2 separate regions of the Homo sapiens genome follow, and region 2 is linked to region 1. The links are contacts of gene promoters, found by promoter capture Hi-C in human tissues and cell types (Jung and others, 2019). All regions are on one chromosome and are shown on one strand. Each heading gives the region's core, a stretch centred on a gene start or on the middle of the fragment in contact. The rest is flanking DNA. Distances are from core to core; before and after follow the strand shown. Region 1 holds the start of SORBS1 (sorbin and SH3 domain containing 1). Region 2 overlaps ENTPD1-AS1 (ENTPD1 antisense RNA 1).

Region 1 (3,025 bases), core at 305-2,804:
TAGGAGAGCCGGGGAAGTGTTCTTTGAAAAGCTGCAGGATGAGGTGCAGATAGGGGAAGGCCGTGGGCTGGGGGCTCCCTAGGTTGAGTAGTTCCCCAGTGTTTTCTCATTTATAGAGTAAGCTTCCAGATGGCTAGGACTCTTCTTTTTTTTTTTAATACACAGCAGAGGACACCAGGTGGTCACCAAAGACTTGTCACCGTTCCCTGACATCTAAGAATCTTTGCTGATGAGTTTCCGATCAGTCTGTGCAGTTATCAAGGCCAGTCTTTACCCTGCCACCCACAGCCTGTTCACTGAGAATGTGCTCTGGCTGAAGATGCTTGCAAGGGCAGCTGACAAAAATCAGTTGTGCTCAGCCCAAAGGGCGAGTGTCTTATCTTCAGGGATGTGGGAAGCTGGGCATGGAGGGAGCAAGTTCCAGACCAGTACTTGCTGGCTCTGCGACCTTGGGCCAGCAGATTCCCCACTCTGATCCCTGTCTCTGTTTCCTTTTCTGTAACTCTGAGGGGGACTAGAGGAGGTCAGGAGAATGGCATAGCACAGTGGTTAGCTCTGAACCCCATCTAACACGGTGCCTTCCCCCCACTTGCAATGACCTTGTTGCATTGTATGCACTCTACTTTTCACATTGTAGAGGATCTTATTTATTTACTTGTCTCCACTAAAATGGAAGCTTCCTAAGGGAAAAGGCCTTGCCTGTCTTGTTCTCTGCAGTTAACACTGGGGTCCAGCACTGCCACAGAGCCTCTAAATATATGTGTGTTGCATGAGTGAAATCTCAGAGCCTGGGTTCAAATCCTGGTTGCACCACTTGCTGTGTGACCTCGGACAAGCCACTTAAACTACACCTCAGTTTTCCTGCATAAAAATAGTAATTATTTTCAGTTTTCTCACTAGAAAAATATGGATTAGTAATCGTTCCTCTCTTATCAGGCTAAGAGGATCAAATGAGGAAATATCCGGGAAGCATTAAGCACACTGGCTGGTACAGAGCACACGAATGACAACAGCAAACGTTTATGTAGCACGACGGCCAGGAACTGATCAAAATGCATCACCTATGTTAACTATGTTAATCTTCACTAGATTTTACGAAGTCGGACTATTATGCCATTTTACAGATGGGTAAACTGAGGCCCAGGAGTTAAATAACTTATCACTGTTATTTTACGTCTAAGGTTCCTTCCAAGCTCCCCGTGGGCGACCCTTCCGAAGGACCAGAAGGCGCGCCAGGCCAGCGTCCGGCCCGGCCAGGACGGAAAGGGTTACTAGGCCCGCGCGCCCGTTACCGGCGGAGGCCGGCGGGCTCACAATGCCAGGAGCCGGGCGCCGGACACTTCTTCGCCTCCCATCCGCGCACACGCCCCTTCCTGTCACGGCTGGGCCCGGCCCCGCCCCCGGCACCGCCCGCTGGCCGGGCGCTGCCAGAGTGGACGGTTCCAGAGGCATGCTAATGAGGGGGCGGGCACCGCAGCCCATTGGTTGTCCGCGGAGTGTCGGTGAAGTCAGCGCTGAGTCCCAGAAAAACAGAGCGGGGCCAGCTGCAGCGTGTAGTGCGAGTGGGGCGGACGCGCGCAGCCCGCCCGCCCGGCGACCAGCAAGGTAAGCCCGCGCTCGCCCGCCCGGCCGCGCTTGCCCGCTCGGCGGCGGCAGCGCCGGGGGTGTGCGCGGCTCGGCCCCCGCGGGCGGCGCCTTTGTTCCGCGCTCGGAGGAGGCGCATTTAAAGGGCCAGCTGTTGGAGGGACTTGGGGGACCCCCTCCCCCAGAGCATCCCCCCATGGGCACAGGGAAAGCGGTGGTCCCTCGCGGCCGAACCGTCCATCCTGCCTGCTCGGCGAATCCCCAGTCTTTCAAGGAAAGTTCCCCAGGGTGCGGAGGATCTGGGGGCTTCCAGGGTTGGGGGTTTTTAAATTTCCTTTTTTGGTGGGTGTGGGGTAGTACGATCATGGCCTCTGCTAGGAGAGAATGTCCGCCCGTCTCAGGGTGGCTGCAATTTGGGTGGGTGGAGGAGACATCAAAGCCCGAATGGGTTTGTGCTGTAAAGTGAAACTACCGAGGAGGGGCACCTCTGCAGCAGCCAGAGGAAGGCGGAGGGAGCGAGCGGCGGGATGGAGGCATCTCAGGTGTGTTCATTCATCAGCATCCCCTGGAGAGGGCGGCGGGAGGGGCGCAAGGACGACGCGGTTGGCCGGACCCGCCTGAATGAACGGGGACTAGTATGCGCCGGGGACACGGCGCCTGCCCGTGCCGCCCGTGCCCCTTCTTCTCCCCGAGTGGCTGACAGCATCTTGCTAGGCAGCTCATCACCGACATGGACAGCAAGCAACTCCTTTCTCCGAATTCCCCGGGCATCCCCTGCTACCACCTCGCTGCTTTCCGATGTGGCTTCCTTGATACGTGGTAGCGCCATTCAAGATAGAGGGGAAAGAGGCTTGAAGTCATTATGTTTCCTTCATGGGGGAATGTGCTGTCGAATTCTGCATCCCCATGCATCCGCTGTCGTAAGATGGCTTTGAAATTCACCAGTGCATGCTTTCTCCAGGCAGACAAGAATTTATTACGCTATTACATTGCTACGTAAAAGCAGAAGGGATCCCACTGAGCATGGCTCGTTTTGTTCAGTCCTCGGTTTTTCCCAGCATGTTCTGGGCGAGCCTTTGGATTTTTGTTTTAAACACTGAGCGTTGGGATGCCCCTGTTGTCACAGGGCCGACCTGCTGAAATTGCTGGAATTGGTTTCATCGTCAATAGGAGGGAGGTTCATCTAGAGACATCATGGAACCTATCTGGCGTGTCAGGCCTCTGACTCCATCTCTCCCCTCAACACCCCCCCCCCCGCCCAGCCCCCCGCGCCCTTTTTTCCTCTTAAGTGGAGGCGGGGGATGGATTGGCTGTCTTCACTCTCCTTGTGTTTTGAGCTCCTCTGCTTAGATTCAATTCTGTGGTTTTGGTTGGAAAGGTATCTTGGTGGTGATCGAAGAGAGGAGGGTTGGATTAAAAGTGGGGTGGACACAGAGGGGTC
Region 2 (3,025 bases), core at 219-2,718, 330 kb before region 1:
TTCTTTCTTTTTTTTTTTTTTGAGATGGAGTCTCGCACTGTCGCCCCAGTTGGAGTGTAATGGTGCGATCTCGGCTCACTGCAAGCTCCGCCTCCCGGGTTCATGCCATTCTCCTGCCTCAGCCTCCTGAGTAGCTGGAACTACAGGTGCCCGCCACCACGCCCGGCTAATTTTTTGTATGTATTTTTAGTAGAGACAAGGTTTCACTGTGTTAGCCAGGATGGTCTCGATCTTCTGACCTCGTTATCCGCCCGCCTCAGCCTCCCAAAGTGCTGAGATTGCAGGCGTGAGCCACCGCACCCGGCCTATAATACTACATTTTAAATCACTAAAAATTCAAGATGGATAATGACTGAGTCTCATGTCTCCTATAATATAGTAGTAAGACAGTTAAATTCTTTCAAGACTTCAGTTTTTGACCTCCACAAAGACAGCAATTAGAAATTGATTTTCTGAGGTCCCCTTTGGCTCCAAAATGCAATGATTAAAGTTTTCATTGACCCTGCTTACTGCCTTTATAGAAATAATTCCCAATATGTGGAAAGGGAATGCAGAGAATCTTAAATGGGACATAATCACTACAGTTGTTTGTATTTGGAGTATATAGAATTAGAGCCAATGACAACAAGGTGGATTTTTTTTTTATTGTTTAGTTTAATACTTTTACAACCTTAATTTTAAGGGATAAGAGACCATTTTCAGCTTAGGTGTTGATAGTGCTAGAGTTTCAAAGTGTGGAATATGTGATAAAGGATTTTTATGTAAAATTAGACATAGTATTAAAACCAGAGCTAGACAGTAAAGAAAGCAGTAAAAAATAGATTTTACTCAGGAACTATTGGAATAAAGTAAGGGACTTGAGTATAGAACTGTGCTCAGTTCTGAAAAGAAGAAGAATAAGGGGGGATTCATACCAAGGAACAGAGTGGGGTCGGTGGATGGAAAATTCCTAGGAGGAAACATCAAGGTAAGAGGTAATTCTGGTTAAACAGACCTAACAGGATTCTTGCTGAAGGCAGGCCAGGATGATCAGACAACACCTCGGGGGCAATGGAGGATGAGGAATTTGATCAGATATTGAAGGAGGTCAGATATGAGGATGGGATTCTTACAAAACTGACTTAACAGGATTCTTGCTCTTGAGGACAAGGCCCAAGTACCGGGCCTAGTAGAGAATGGGCTCAAAGGAACCTGACTAAATTTTGCTTAAGGAGAGTCTTTGTCAGTAGTCATCATACTTAAATTGTTTATTTTTGCCAAGTACCTCTTACCAAAGCTTTATAAGCATTTAATTGTGCTTCTCATTATGAGAACAGATAAAAGAAAAGGCTATTAAAAGAAAAGGAATTGTTATTAGCCAATTCATAAAGTAGGAGAGAGTTGTTAGACCCAAGATTTCAGAGTAAGAAAAAAAAAATGACGCCACTGGGACTTCTGCTTTCAGATAAGAGGAAGTAACAGGGACCAGATTAACCCTCCCACCTGAAACAACAAAAAAAAAAGTGAAGAAAATATATGAAACAACAATTTCCAAGAAGTTGGATATCAGGCAATGAAGGACAGTGATCTCTGAGAAATGTTCCAGCTTGCTGCCTTGAGAGAGTTTCCAGGTCATGGTGCAGAAAGTGGGAATCATGATGGAGCAAGTCACTGCCAAGTTAAGGGGACAGAACTGAGACGCCTGGGAAACCAAGGCAGCTAGCACTGGACAAGAGAGTACTGCCCAGGGAGAGTATTCTAGGGTACTCTTTACCAACCCTCAGATACTTTCCTGGAATGCAGAAGGTTTCCCTGCATTTCAGGAAAGTACCTGAGGCTGGAGAAAGAGCTACTCTAGAAGATTAGAAGGAACAGTACTTGGAGCTCACTTAGGGCTGGCAATAGGGACTTTTCCCACCAGCCATTATGAGGTTATGGAAAACCTCATAATTCACAGGATACTGGGTAGCATTCAGAAGAGCCTTGTCTCAATAGTGGGAAATAATGAGCCCTAGACTAAACACTACTCTGATCTATGGAAAACCTCATAATAGTAAGGAATAATGAGCTCTAGACTAAACACTACTCTGATCTATGGAAAACCTCATAATTCACAGGATGCTGGGTAGAGTTCAGAAGGGCCTTGTCTCAATAGTGGGGAATGAACTCTAGACTAAACACTACTCTGATCTTACCTAATAAGTCTTAACAGCGAGACCTGAAAGGATCAAACTGTTTCCAAGTAACTGCTTCCTGAAACAAAGCTTAAGAGTATTTGTAGGAATCCAAAAAAGATACAGTCCTATGAGTTTGGGTTACTTTTCTCCTTCTAATTTTTCTGTTTCTGTTCTGAAAATGTGGGAGGTTGCATGGGATAATGAAAAAAGTATTAGATTAGAAATCAGGAGAGCTGAGTTTTTGTCTAGTTCTGCTACCGACTTACCATGTGACCATGGTCAAGGTTTTCTTTTTTCTTGTCACAAGTGACCCCAGTACATGGAGGGATTTGGATCAAACAAATTCTGAAAAATTCTTAAACTCTAAAATGAAATTGTCTTCAGGCCTTCTATATTTGCTCAAAAGAATCAGGAACACTAAAATGCAGAAAAGATTACTTGATTCTACTTAGTTTTACTAATTGTTTTATCAAGCATAAGGGATTCTAATTTGTTACAAAAATTTAAATCATTTAAAATCAATTTGTGAATTTCTCTTAAAGTTAGTCATTTACTGGATAAACCAAATTATATATGATGTTTATTCATTTTAATATTTTTTATTTCAATAGTTTTTGGGGAACAGGTGATGTTTGCTTACGTGCAGAAGTTCTTTAGTGGTGATTTCTGAGATATTGGTGCACCCATCACCCAAGCAGTGTACACTGTACCCAATGTATACTCTTTTATCCCTCATCCCCTCTCCCAGCCTTTCCCCCAAGTCCCCAAAGTTCATTGTATCATTCTTATGCCTTTGTGTCCTCATAGCTTAGCTCCCACTTATGAGTGAGAACATACGATATTTGGTTTTCCATTCCTGAGTTACTTCA

Evidence for each region. The method cuts DNA at HindIII sites, captures the fragments that hold promoters and counts their contacts. A contact is called where the count stands out against the background at its distance.
Region 2: a fragment that was not itself captured here is called in contact with the fragment with the promoter of SORBS1 in region 1 in 1 of the 25 tissues and cell types used here (IMR-90 fibroblasts).

Annotation. Positions count from the first base shown.
Region 1 is chr10:95,559,900-95,562,924 of GRCh38, reverse strand. SORBS1 (sorbin and SH3 domain containing 1) reads left to right here and starts at 1,554. Exons shown (of 33, transcript NM_001034954.3): 1 at 1,554-1,605. RefSeq lists silencers at 1,205-1,574, 1,615-1,724 and an enhancer at 1,209-1,971. The HindIII fragment of the contact is 4,090 bases long and covers 400-3,025 here.
Region 2 is chr10:95,894,679-95,897,703 of GRCh38, reverse strand. All of the region lies in intron 2 of ENTPD1-AS1 (ENTPD1 antisense RNA 1), which reads left to right. Among named protein-coding and RNA genes, the nearest start is that of CC2D2B, 12 kb to the left of the region's middle. RefSeq lists a silencer at 1,325-1,525. The HindIII fragment of the contact is 3,110 bases long and covers 1-3,023 here.